Linked DNA regions of Homo sapiens: all the other regions are linked to region 2. Evidence: promoter capture Hi-C in 16 types of primary human blood cells and fetal thymus (Javierre and others, 2016). All regions are on one chromosome and are shown on one strand. The core of a region is centred on a gene start or on the middle of the fragment in contact, and the rest is flanking DNA. Distances in the headings are between cores, read along the strand shown. Region 1 holds the start of PRKAB2 (protein kinase AMP-activated non-catalytic subunit beta 2). Region 2 has its middle 11 kb from the start of TRQ-CTG4-1. Region 3 holds the start of CHD1L (chromodomain helicase DNA binding protein 1 like).

The links. The method cuts DNA at HindIII sites, captures the fragments that hold promoters and counts their contacts. A CHiCAGO score of 5 or more calls a contact.
Region 1: the fragment with the promoter of PRKAB2 here is called in contact with a fragment that was not itself captured in region 2 in 3 of 17 cell types (naive CD8 T cells, erythroblasts and total B cells); the score reaches 10.4 in naive CD8 T cells.
Region 3: a contact is called between the fragment with the promoter of CHD1L here and a fragment that was not itself captured in region 2, in 1 of 17 cell types (naive CD8 T cells). The highest score is 6.9, in naive CD8 T cells.

The regions. Positions count from the first base shown.
Region 1 is chr1:147,170,513-147,174,741 of GRCh38, forward strand. PRKAB2 (protein kinase AMP-activated non-catalytic subunit beta 2) reads right to left here and starts at 1,958. Exons shown (of 8, transcript NM_005399.5): 1 at 1,917-1,958; 2 at 1,477-1,655. The coding sequence starts at 1,632. It also overlaps a transcript of CHD1L not described here. RefSeq lists silencers at 1,618-1,887, 2,058-2,287. The HindIII fragment of the contact is 16,401 bases long and covers 1-4,229 here.
Region 2 is chr1:148,252,331-148,256,395 of GRCh38, forward strand. No RefSeq gene overlaps it. Among named protein-coding and RNA genes, the nearest start is that of TRQ-CTG4-1, 11 kb to the right of the region's middle. The HindIII fragment of the contact is 852 bases long and covers 2,021-2,872 here.
Region 3 is chr1:147,241,008-147,245,526 of GRCh38, forward strand. It overlaps CHD1L (chromodomain helicase DNA binding protein 1 like), which reads left to right and starts at 1,677. Exons shown (of 23, transcript NM_004284.6): 1 at 1,677-1,823. The coding sequence starts at 1,697. RefSeq lists a silencer at 1,509-2,128. The HindIII fragment of the contact is 18,027 bases long and covers 1-4,519 here.

The DNA of each region.
Region 1 (4,229 bases), core at 708-3,207, 1.1 Mb before region 2:
GAATTGGAGAATAAACCCCAATAAGTGCTCCTTTTAATCACTCTCACTTCTCTGTGATTATGGTTGGTTTTTTTGTTTTTTTGTTTTTTTGTTTTGAGAGTCTGTCACCCAGGCTGGAGTGCAGTGGTTTGATCTAAACTCACTGCAACCACCGCCTCCCGGGTTCAAGCGATTCTCCTGCCTCAGCCTCCCGAGTAGCTGGGACTACAGGCATGCACCAGCATGCCCGGCTACTTTTTCTGTATTTTTAGTAGAGACGGGGTTTCACCATGTTGGTCAGGCTGGTCTCGAACACCTGACCTCAAATGATCCAACCGCCTCGGCCTCCCAAAGTGCTGGGATTACAGGCGTGAGCCTCTGCGCCAGGCTGTGATGATGTTATCAATTGAGATCCAAAGAAATAAATCATGGAATCCAAATTCCATGTGCTACCAATATGGCAAACAATACTCTATTCACTCTCTAAAGCCCCAGTTCCCTGGGAAGTGATGAAATGATAGGAAACATCAAACACACCCGAATCTCCTCAAGCCCTCCATTTTTCTATCTCATCCAGTCAGTCTACCTGGAGGAATTACTTGTATTTCATGCTGACAGCTCTGAAAGCCATTAGAAACATTAGAATGGTAATCGCTGCTATCAGCTCCATCTGTCCTTTCTTACAGAGTGAAAACAAGTTGTTCTCTTCCTGAAAGTCCTTGGAATTGAGAGCAAGGTCTTCAGGGCAGCTGTGGGTTGTCGTTTTTTTAGCCACGCAACATTTTGAAGTACTACTGAGGAGTAAACAAGTCGTGGAATCATTGGCTCTTCCACCTACGGAGCAGCAGCGGGGCGTGAAAGAGGCACAGCCTCAGCCACCACAACTATAAAGTATGGGACAAAAATTAAGCAGTCAACTAAATGATGTCCTTAATTGATCCCCAAGACTAGGAGAAAGTATTCAATAAGCAAGTAGTTGCTGCTTACAGCCGTGCCAAAAGGGAAGAGGATCACAACTGTAGAGCTGCTAGAAGAGCAAAAATGATACTGATACATAGAAATTTTCAGAAAAAGAATTTCATTTAGCCACCTCAGGGCAAAGGTGAGAAACTACCACCTATGGTCAGCAACTCGTGCAACCTACCCTCTGAAGTTGTCCACCAGGGATTACAAACTACAAATTCAGCAACGCTATGGAAGAGAGCCATTCGTGCTCGGAGGATCGGGGATGGGGGGATGTCTATTGTCCCCATCCTAAAAATGTGGCCAACAGATTAGTCAGAACACCAGGAAAGCAAGAACTCCGCCTCTTTATCCTATTTTGAGGCGGCACTTCAAGAGGAATTATCATCCAACACCTCTGTCCCCGATAAATCCCTTTAATTCAAAAAACCATAGCCCGGTTCGGCGCGGTAGAAAAGAACCAAGAAAGGGAAGAGGAGCCCAGAAATCAACCCGCTGCAGTACTGACACCAACTGCGGGCATGGGACGCTTACCTTGGAGTCAGGGAGGCTGAACACGCTGGGGTCGTCCGTACTCCCCACCATGATCTTGTGCTCCTTCCCCGGGGCATGGCCGCCTGCGCCCTCGGAGCGTGCAGCCTTGGCGCCGTGGCGCTCCCCGGACACCCGGTCGCTGGTGGTGTTTCCCATGGCTGCAGCTCGTCGGGGACCACCTACCGCGGGGAACGACACCGGGCTGGGAACACCTCAGCCGCCGCGTCAGGGGCGCCCCCCGGCCCCGCCCCTGCGCCTCGGGACAGGGCAAGGGATTCCCCGCCCCAGGGAAGCCGAGCCCTGGAGCCCTCTCCCTCCTGGCCTGCGGGAACGCCTGCAAATACCCCGGTGCCCTCACTGGCCCTAGCTCAGGAAACCCGCTATCGGGACCTCCCCCGCGTCCCCGCGCTCACTGCCAGGGGCGCCCCCACTCCAGTCACCTCGGGCGATGCGCTCCCTCCTCCAAGGGCCACTGATGTGATGGCTGTTCTGCAGATCAGGCCACCAATAAAGTTATTGAAATTGAAGCCGCACCCCTCGCTGGCGACCAGCGATTCCTCCTAAAATGGCTACAAGGCCGGCGGCGCGGAGTCCGCCCAGTGCGCGTTCCCTGCGGCCTGCAGCCTCGGCGCCCGGGACCCGCCGGCCTCTCTAGCCGCCGCCGCCGCCGCCTCGATGGTGGGCAGTCGCACGCAGCCTCCAGCGCCAGGAGGGGGCGCCAGGCAGGGCCTGTCCCGCCTGGGGAGACTGCGCCCGGGATAATAGGAGCGCTTGGCCTCTGAGACTACCCGGCAGAAGGGACGTCCCCAAATGACACTCGGAGGCCGCCTCCCTGGGCTCCGGTGCTCGGTGCCGGGAGGAGCGGCACGGCTTTCTACCCCGCCTCAGGTGCGCCAGCACGTTTTCTGGGCAGCATCTGTGTGTTAGGCGACCGGAGAGGTGGGTTCCTTATAGGGAATAAGAAAACTGAAACTGACTTCCAACTGCAGGCAGAAGGAAGCAGTGGTCATTGCTGGAGGTTAAAACTGTTCTGACCGGGCGCAGTGGCTCACGCCTGTATTCCCAGCACTTTGGGAGGCTGAGGCGAGCAGATCACGAAGTCAGGAGATCAAGACCATCCTGGCCAACAAGGTGAAACCCCGGCTCTACTAAAAATACAAAAATTAGCTGGGCGTGGTGGCGCGCGCCGGAAGTCCCAGCTACTTGGGAGGATGAGGCAGAAGAATCGCTTGAACCCGGGAGGCGGAGGTTGCGGTGAGCCGAGATCGCGCCATTGCACTCCAGCCTGGCGACTCAGCGATACTCCGTCCCCCTCTCCCCGCCCCAAGAAAAATCTGTTCAGTGGGGAGCGACAAGGAAGGAGCTTTCAGCCCGACTGGGGTCGCAGGGAAGAATTCAAGATGGCGTGTTTAGGAGCTCTAGCTCCTTGACAAATTAGTAAAATGTTAGTCTTAGGAGAAGAACGAAAAGGCTCTCCTAGGCTAAGAAACAGCATACACAGTGAGAAACCTCAGAAGAAATAAAATTCAAGGAAGATAGCAACAACGAAAACATCAGAAGGAACACTAAAGGTATAAAAAGGGCAAAGACAGCCCTAGGGTTGGGAGGGATCCAGGTTTTTTATGAAAATTAGTGGAATCCCTAAGGTACTTACCTTTGTATTATAAGTATTTGCATGTCTCCTTCTAGAAACGTTTATCACTCTGTGTTACACAGACCAGCAGTGTTGGCGTCAACTGGGAGCCTGTTAGAAATGCAGAATCAGGCCCCATCCCCAGGGTTCTGAATCTGCATTTTAACAAGATCACATTAAAGTGTGTGAGAAGCAATGCTTTGACAGCTGGCAGAGAGCAGATCCAGATTTGATACCTTTTCATATTCTGCATGTACCTTATACAGAGTAGGCTTTTGCATTTGCGGAATGAAGGATACAGGAATACTGTTTACTGTAATCCATTTCTAACCAGATATGCCACTTAGGCTTAAACACGGCCAATGATGGGGAACCCCAAGTTACATAGGCCACCCTTTCTGAGTGAGCAGCTCTATTTGCTGAAACGTTCATTTTTATATTATGAAGTTGACATCCCACTTAAGTACAACAAATTCACTACTCCCCTATTCTTTGCTCTGCCTCTTATAAACTCATTCTTTGGCTCATAAACCAAAGACAGTTTACAGGAAGAAAAAAAAAAGGTACGATTTTACTGCAACTTCTTGCTCACCCCTCCAAAATCTTTATGTCTGAGTACATGCTTTTTGGTTATCCCTACTTTTCTCCCTCCACCCCTCAATTCCTTACCATAGGACACTGAAGCAAGGCCCTTGAAGATACATAATACATTAAACCTTGACTTGTGTAGTATTCAGTTTTCTGACCCCAAGGTGGTTTCACCATGCCAAATAATATGTCCTTGGTATGTATTTCCTTGCAGTAGTCAAATCAGCCTAGCAGAAACAAAGTACGTTAACCAATGGAAAACTGACGGAGAGAAATAAACTGTTTTTGCACAGCTAAATGGAAATGACTTTTGAATTATCTGCTTTGGAAGATTATCCATGACACTGTTCTGCCCTGCTCTGCTCTAACAACATTTGTAAGTCACTCAACAGTTAATAATAAAAGTCAGTTTTGAATATTGCAGGTTTTAGACACAGAACAAATGTAATGTGACACTGTAGGAAGAATGAATTCTCCTTAGTCCCAAATTCCTTTTTTTTTTCTTAGATTCGGGAATAAGTAAAGATACAAG
Region 2 (4,065 bases), core at 1,197-3,696:
CCTCAGTAAACTTGACTTAAAAAAAAAGACATTCCCAGATTTTGGCACAACGGAAGCGTTATAATCTTCTATTCATTTCTGGCAAGAGTATAAATAAGTTCAAAAACTTTGGAAAATTGTTTGCCTGTATATTCTAGTGGTAAAACACACATACATATATGCTATGACCCAGAAATTCAACTTTTCTACCCCATAGACTTGTGCTTTCCAATATGATAGCCACAAACCACGGGTAGCTATTGAACACTTGAAATCTTGCTAGTGTCACATGGGGTAATGATAATACCTTAAATATATTTAGTTGAATATATATTATAAAAAATAATTTCACCTCTTTCTTTTTACTTTTTAAAACATGTCTACTAATACATTTAAAAGTACGTATATGCCTGGCATTATATTTCTATTGGAATTTCTATTTCTAGAGAAACGTGAATATGGTTTACCAAAGACATGTAAAACAAATACATATTTATTCAAAATATTCCTAAACTATAAAGAATTCAAATGTCTGAGGAAAGAAAAGAAATTTTATGTGAGGAAAGTGAGTGCTTTCAAATTAACAAGCCCAGAGTTAGGCATTAAAATGAGACAGCAACAACGTCTTATGTCCCTGTTTTGAAGCCGTGTATTCATCTATTAAAACAGCTTGCTATCATCACAAGTGGCTATAAAGCAACCTAAACATGCTGCACTGGACACCATCTCTCACTCCCTGTAGCTGAACAATGTATAGCTAATCATTAATCAATGTTATTTCTGTAAACTTCAGGGAGTTCCTGACAGGCAATTTTGTACCAGCCAACTCCCCGTCTCCCTTTTTGGTCTTTAGAAACCTGCTTGTAACAAAGGGCAAATGGAGCCCACATCCAAGATTGCTTGGATCTGAGTCTTCCAGGCAAGTGTCCTCACATTGGCTCAAACAAACTTTTTAAATCATGTTTGTGCTTAAGCCCCTTCCTTCTAGGTCGACGTTTTTGGCCCAGGGAGCAGAATGCAGAGCGACTCATCTCTGACCATCTGACTGTCCTCTCAAAGGCCTCCAGGGTGGCTACATAGTAGTAAGAATTTGATTGGTGAGATCAGTTTGCAGTCCAGGAAGAGACAGTCTCCGGTGTGTGTCTTTGAAGAGGTGCTTTCTCTTCAGAGAGAGAGAGAGAGAGGGCAGGTTGGTTTTTGTGCCTCACACGGTGTGTATCACACAATGGAGTTATACATATTCAGCAGGTTTGGAGAAACGCCATTTCTGAGGGGTGTTGAGCTCATGTGCAACGGGTAAACATATATGTAACGTGCACCCCATCTTCACATTGGGAAGAGATTTTAGCATTAAAATTAGATGGAAATTGGCTCTTTATGTCAAAAGGTGAACTATAGGACATGAAGTCGGTTTGTGTGCAGTCCCTGTAACATGGCTGAAACTGGCTTGAGGTCTGCAGTTGCTTATCAGGAAAGAATGGAAGGGCACTCCTCTGTCCCATCAGAGGTCTGGTGATCTGGGTTGTAAATCCAGTTGAGAATTGCTGGGAAGATTTTGACAATTTGCCTGCTAGCTCCTATTGTTAAGGAGTTTAGCAAGAGTGTGGTTTTTCTTCTAGCCACAGAAATTTAGGAAGTTGCTATGCCAGTCCAGCCCTGAATCCTTGACCCGTAGGTAACTCTTGTTTTCTTAACCTTAGAGTCTGTCTTAGTCTACAAGGTGACATCTATTTTTGTCTCTCAGACCACATTCCTCCTGGACTAGGTGCCTGGCCAGCTTTGAAATCCTCACGTTCTGACTCAGAGAAACAGATGGGCAGTAAGTGGTGAATCCTCCTGAAATCTGGACCTTCCCACTCTTTGGTTGAAGGCCTGGAGTTTGCTTGAGTTGTCCTTTCCAGCCTTCCCTTTCTACAATGGAGGTTTTCTGTCTTTACCCTCCAGTTAAGAGACTTGAGTTTCAGGGGGAAAAAACTGCCCTTTCCACCTCTGCCTCAGGACAGAAAGTTTGGGTCACAGTCAGGCAAAGGACTGTGTGGAAAGCTTCTGCCTTTTCTGCCTCTGTCCCTCATCAGGAAGGTCTGGGTCAAGATATTGGCAGGTAGGCACCGGTGGTTTTGTTTTCTGTAGCATGCTTTTATGAAAGTTTGAACTTAGGTTTTCACTTGTGACTAATTCTTGTTAGTTTTTTTTTTTTTCCTTGAGATGGAGTTTTGCTCTTGTTGCCCAGGGTGGAGTGCAATGGCGGGATCTCGGCTCACCGCAACCTCCGCCTCCTAGGTTCAAGTGATTCTCCTGCCTCAGCCTCCCAAGTAGCTGGTTTTACAAACGTGCCACCACGCCCAACTAATTTTGTGTTTTTAGTAGATACAGGGTTTCTCCATGTTGTTCAGGCTGGTCTCAAACTCCTGACCTCAGGTGATCTGCCCACCTCGGCCTCCCAAAGGGCTGAGATTACAGGCGTAAGCCAATGTGCCCGGCCCCTGTTAGTTCTTACCTGGAAAATGCACGGAGGTACTTTCTCCAGCCCTGAAGAAAAGAAGTGATCTGCTCCCGATGACCCTTTCAGGGGCTACAAGTGACCAGGGACGCTGCAGAGGTGTCACGGTCACTACTCACCATGTGAAGGCGGCCTCGTAGAGCATTCCCCATCAGAAGAACGTCTTTATGAATCCCCTTTCCTGCTCTTATGGGAGGGTATATGAGCGATGGGTCCCCCAGAGCAGATGCACTCTGTGGCCACCTGGTGGTTAGAAACAGTGGGAGCCACTGAGACAGTGATACACAACTCCGGTGATATCTGTAGGAGTGACTACATAAGCAGGACACTGTGACCCAAAACACATCCCAGATTTTGGTCATCTTTGCAAAGCTCCTGAATTATGGGAAATCAAGCTTCAAAATCTGAGCATACTTTGAAGAAACAACCGCGTTTAGAACCACCAGCTGAGTTTCTGTATAACAGTTATGAAGCATCCTCTTGTAAATATCCAAGAAACCTGACCCACCTAACCAGAAAAACTCATAAGTAGAATGGAGAAAATGGGGATCTTTTGAAATGACTAAAATAATTTATTAGGGCACACAATTGGAAAAATTTGGTTTTAGAATCAGGCAAATTGAATGGGAGACTTACTTCCAATGATACCTAGAAATTTCTAAAAGAACTACTGAGAAAATTGCCTCCATTGAGGATTTAAACTGGGGATATCTGATGCTTTTTCTGAATTGAGAAATATTGAGGAGGCTTTGTCTCTTTCGCCTCCAACTGCTCCTTTTCCTCCTGCCCCTGCACCTGCATAGTCTCCCTTACCTGAGCCCTCCTGTCCTGCCTTGCCTCTTCTTCCATCACCATCACCTGAGGAAAGTCCCCAGGGCTCTGGCCCCTTCCCTGAAAGTTCTGTTCTGGCAGCCCCTTTCAAGGTAAAACCCACAGGAAGAGGGGAGCCTGCTATTGTGTATACTGCTTCACCATAATGTGAATTAAGAATATTGTAAAAGACTTCCCTTTTCTAAATTGAAATACATTTTCCTCTTCTCTTTCTAAAGCAGGCTCTGCTTTAGATTTAGAAGTAGATTGGAGGAGAATTTAGCAATGCACTTAAAAGGCCAAATAAATCTGTCATTGATATTTTAAATGGTTGAAAATAATTTATTTATTTATTTATTGAAACAGGTTCTCACTCTGTCACCCACGCTGGAGTGCAGTGGCTCCATCATGGCCCACCACAGCCTCAAACTTCTGGGCTCTAGCAATCCCCCCACCTCAGCCTCCGAGTAGATGAGGCCACAGGTGCATGCCACCACACCTGGCTAATTCTTCAACTTTTTATAGAGAGGAGGTCTCACTTTGGTTTCCAGGCTGGTCTTGAACTCCTGGGCTCAGTCAATCCTCCCGCGTCAGCCTAATATTTACACTGACCACGGAGATGCATTTGGAGAAGGTGGTGATTTTGGAATGCTTTAGAAGCAACCTAGGTTTCTTATTTCACCAGGTCAACCCATCAAAAATGACCAATAAGTCTCTGAACTCTTAGGAGCAATTTGAAAACCCAAATCTTTGGCCATCATCAAAATTCCTTGTCA
Region 3 (4,519 bases), core at 427-2,926, 1.0 Mb before region 2:
GTCTCTCATTCCACCCGACGAGAAATACCCACAAGTGTGGAGGGGCAGGCCACCCCTTCACTACCTGATTTTTATTTATTGCTTGTCTCCTCCTTTTAAAATGTAAGATCCAGGAGATAAGTGGCCTCTATCTTCAGTACCATAGAGTGCTTGGCACATAGTATGTAATTCAGTCAGTGTCAGGCCTCTGAGCCCAAGCTAAGCCATCATATCCCCTGTGACCTGCACGTACACATCCAGATGGCTGGTTCCTGCCTTAACTGATGACATTCCACCACAAAAGAAGTTTAAATGGCCCGTCTTTGCCTTAAGTAATGACATTACCTTGTGAAAGTCCTTTTCCTGGTTCATCCTGGCTCAAAAAGCTCCCCTACCGAGCACCTTGTGACCTCTCACTCCTGCCCGCCACAGAACAAACCCCCTTTGACTGTAATTTTCCTTTACCTACCCAAATCTTATAAAACGACCCCACCCCTATCTCCCTTCGCTGACTCTTTTCGGACTCAGCCCACCTGCACCCAGGTGAAATAAACAGCTTTATTGCTCACACAAAGCCTGTTTGGTGGTCTCTTCACACGGACGCGCATGAAAGTCAGTATTTATGAATGACTCAAGACACAAAAATAGCTTCATAAAACAGTGCTTTGCTTGAGTTTTTATGAATAAACCAATCTGAAGTCATCCCTTTTCTAGCTCAGAACAAATTTCTCCCTTTTATTTTAGAGGAAGATGAGAATGGAGGGTACAAATTTAACATGAGTTTACTGAAGAAGGAAGCACCAAGATTAACCTAAATGAGAATACTATTCTAATGACATTAGCCAGAGAATAATATCGTTCCTGTTCCAGTACTGCCAATTACCATTACAAGTCCCAATATCTTCATTTACAATGTGGGGACAATTATAACACCTAATTATTGGTTATTGTGAAGGTTAAATAAGAAAATATACTTAAAGCCCTTAGGACACCACCCAGAACTTCATCAATAAATGCAGCTATTTTGTTATTATCATATTTATATTAGTGGTATACTACATCATAAATCCACTCAAAGCTGATGCTGAGTCACGGTGACCCCTAACTGAACACATTGCCTCAATCTGCTCCCCATAATGCACTTGAGATACCCACTGCCACAATGACGTCTTTGGTGATTTTAATTTACTACTATTCAGAGGTTCCCAATTTTGGCCTACAGGTCACAGGCAGTAAGAAAGGGATTTCAGGGACTAAATCAATTTATCACTAGGTAAACCGAACAAGAACAGTTTGATCTTATCGTGAATCACTGGAGGGCACGGAACAAGTCTTACTTCTAGAACCCCCAGGGCCCAGCGGAGTGTCTGACACATGATAGTCGATGTTGATTAAATAATAAATGAATGATGAACACATGCCACCTCCTTGACGGGCAGTTCAGGCAATCAGACGTCCTGTGCGTGATCAGACGCCTAGCGCTTCAGAAGCACGACTGGTGAGAACTGGGCAGCCCTTCCACGCTCCGCACTGCAAGAACTGCCTGTCCGGAAGGGTGACTGCACCAGCTCCGCTCCGGATATCTTGGCAGGACGCGCCCTCTGGCGGCGCCTCGCTCGTAGGTGGGCCCCAGCGCGCAGTCGCGCGCCCCCGCGCGTTGGGAAGTTGGGAGGGAGGTGCGCGCTTGGCCGCGCGGGGCGGGGCCTCTACCGGCCCGATGGAGCGCGCGGGCGCTACTAGCCGCGGGGGCCAAGCCCCTGGCTTCTTACTGCGGCTTCATACTGAGGGCCGAGCCGAGGCGGCGCGGGTGCAGGAGCAGGACTTACGGCAGTGGGGGCTGACAGGTGAGCGGGCTCCGGGCGGACTTCGGCCAGGCGGGCCAACCTATTGGGACTGCCTCTTGCGGGCCGGGGGCGCAGCGGGTGGGCCGCCCGGTGGGCAGTTTACCCGCTCGCGCCAGGGCCTTCCTTCGCTCCTGCCGTGGGCGGAGAGAAACTGCGCCCGGGCTTGGTGGCCACGGCCCCCGCCTGCGCGGCGCGCGGGGCCGGCGGACGCCAGATGAATGAGGTCGCGGGCCCGGTAGCCAGGCCTGGCCCCTGGCCTGTGGAGGGGAAACGTGGTGAGATCAGCGCCACCTGCAGGCCTCCGCTGAAGAGTTGGACGGCCTGGTGCACCAAGGATGTAGGTTTCCAGTTGCTGTTCCGGTGGGTTTGGGTCCCGGCCTGGGGAGTTTATTGGTTGCTTCTGTAAAACGATCAACTCATCTCCCAGCTTCAGCTTCTCCGTTTACTGTGCGCGCGCAGTTATTGGAGAATTCGCCACGGATTAATTCTCCGGATCGAGTTACGTGCGGTAGTGAGCGGACAAACTCAAGCAAAGCACTGTTTATGAAGCTATTTTTGTGTCTTGAGTCATTCATAAATACTGACTGAACCACGTACTATATGCCAACTTAGCTTGTCCGCTCACCACCGCACGTAACTCGATTTATTGACACTAGCCCTTACGGAGAGTCTGCAAAGCGCGAACCTTGCATGCCCCCCAGCCCTGCCGCTGCATGGCTGACCGTACTTCCTGCAGCTCCGAGACCCCGCTCTCCTCCTGGGTCTGCGCTGACTCGCCGCTGAACCGCCCCAGCCTCGTTTTCCTTACTTATAAGTTGGGAACGTAGTGTGTGCTTTGACTGTATTGACAGAATCATGCATCAGTAATAATACAGTCGTTTATTCATTACTTATTGAATGCTACTGGGAGCGTATTCTTAGGCATTGGCTACAAAGATGAGCAAAACAAATAGGGACCCTTCCTACCTAGAGTTTTAGACTAGTGAGAGTGCATTTAAAAGTATAAACTAATTTATTTAAGTGCTCAGTACCACGAAAGAGTAAGGTTTGTCATTCTAGGAATGAAACAAAAGGTGCAATTCTGTGTTCAGCTTAGAAGACTGAAAGATGAAGTTGAATGGAGAGGACGCTGACATGAAAGAGAAAGACCTCTCTCCTTGATTCCCTGAGTCTGTAAGAATGTGTGGCTGTAAGGAGTATGTATCCAGTTTTAAGTATGAGCTTGTAGACTGGTCTTTTTATGTTTGACTTTATCTTAACGAAAGTTTATGTTTGTGGGTTTGCCTATTTCCTTGCAAGTGTTGGGAATGGTTCTTTAAGAACTTGTGTGAGAGAGGGCTCAGAAAAGTGTGCCAGTTGATACTTAGCTGTGGATAATATGCCAGGAGAAACGTACATATGGGCAAGTGTTTTAGTGAAAATGAGGAGACAAGAGGTTGCAAGTTTGAGTGGATGGAATGGAGTGAGTAAATTCAGAATTAAGTAGGCAAATGTGGCAACTTGGATAAATTGGTAGTGGAGAAGGAAAATAGAAAAGCAGAGTCAAAGGAATGGCTACTGAATATTATAACTTGTAATTTCTATTTCTGTTTACCAGAATAAACTAGTGTTATGAGAAACTATTCTTCATGAGTTGGTTAAAAAAATTCTTACTACTTTTTTTTCGTTTGGTTACAGAAGTAGTACGTATTTTCAGTAAAACATTCAGGGAAATAGCCTATGCATAAAGAAAATAAATATTAATCTCCATAATCTCCTTACTGTTAACATGTTCTCTATCCTGTATAATTTCTTTTACTTTCTGGTGGAGGGGGAAGGTGAAAAATGGAGTTTCATGTACATTTTTTTGGGAAATCATAACTTTTTTTCCTTATCATTCAGTCTTCTTCAACATCATTCTTAATGGTTACAGTTTTTCAGTATATGGATGTACCATAGTTTAGACAGTCCCTCTTCTTGGTATTTAGGTTCTTTTTTTTGCTATTGTAAGTAACATAAATATCCTTGTAACCAAATATTTATTATAGGTATGGACGTTTAATTCCTGAAAGGTACCATTTCTAGAATAAAGAGTATGCAAAATTTTTGCTTATTTCTCTATACTCTCAGCAACACTGGTATTTTCTAATTTGAGAAGTTAATATGCTATCGTATTGTTTAATTTAATGTTTATTTGGTTACCAATATTGATGGACATTTGGATATTCATCTTTGGATCATGAAGTTACCTTAGGACCTTTTTGTTTCTGGAATATGCAGACCTATTACTTCTTGCTGTTTTGCTTGCTTTTTCACTACTTGTCATCTCCCTGACAGAAGGGCAAAAGAATCTACATCTGGAGGTTAAAAAGCTAAAGACTACCTTTCCCAGACCCCACTGTAGTTTGGTTGTAAACGTGACTTGGCTTTAGCCAGGCACGTGACTGGGAGATTTGGAAGGGGAAAGTGAGGGGAAGGACACAGAGGGGTTTGGATTTTCCGCTTCCCACTTAGCTACTACCTCATGGGTCTGTGGGAGGGTACAGAGCATTCATTTTGTTATCATGGATTGTGGCTGCGTTGATAGGTCCCTGGGGCTGACAGTACCGTGGCCTCCTGGTTGGTTCCTGGCTTCCAGGTCGTGGAGGTAGATACTTCCTTGGTGTGTCCATACTGTGGTGCTTGATTTAGCAGTTGTACCCAGAAGATCAGCCTAG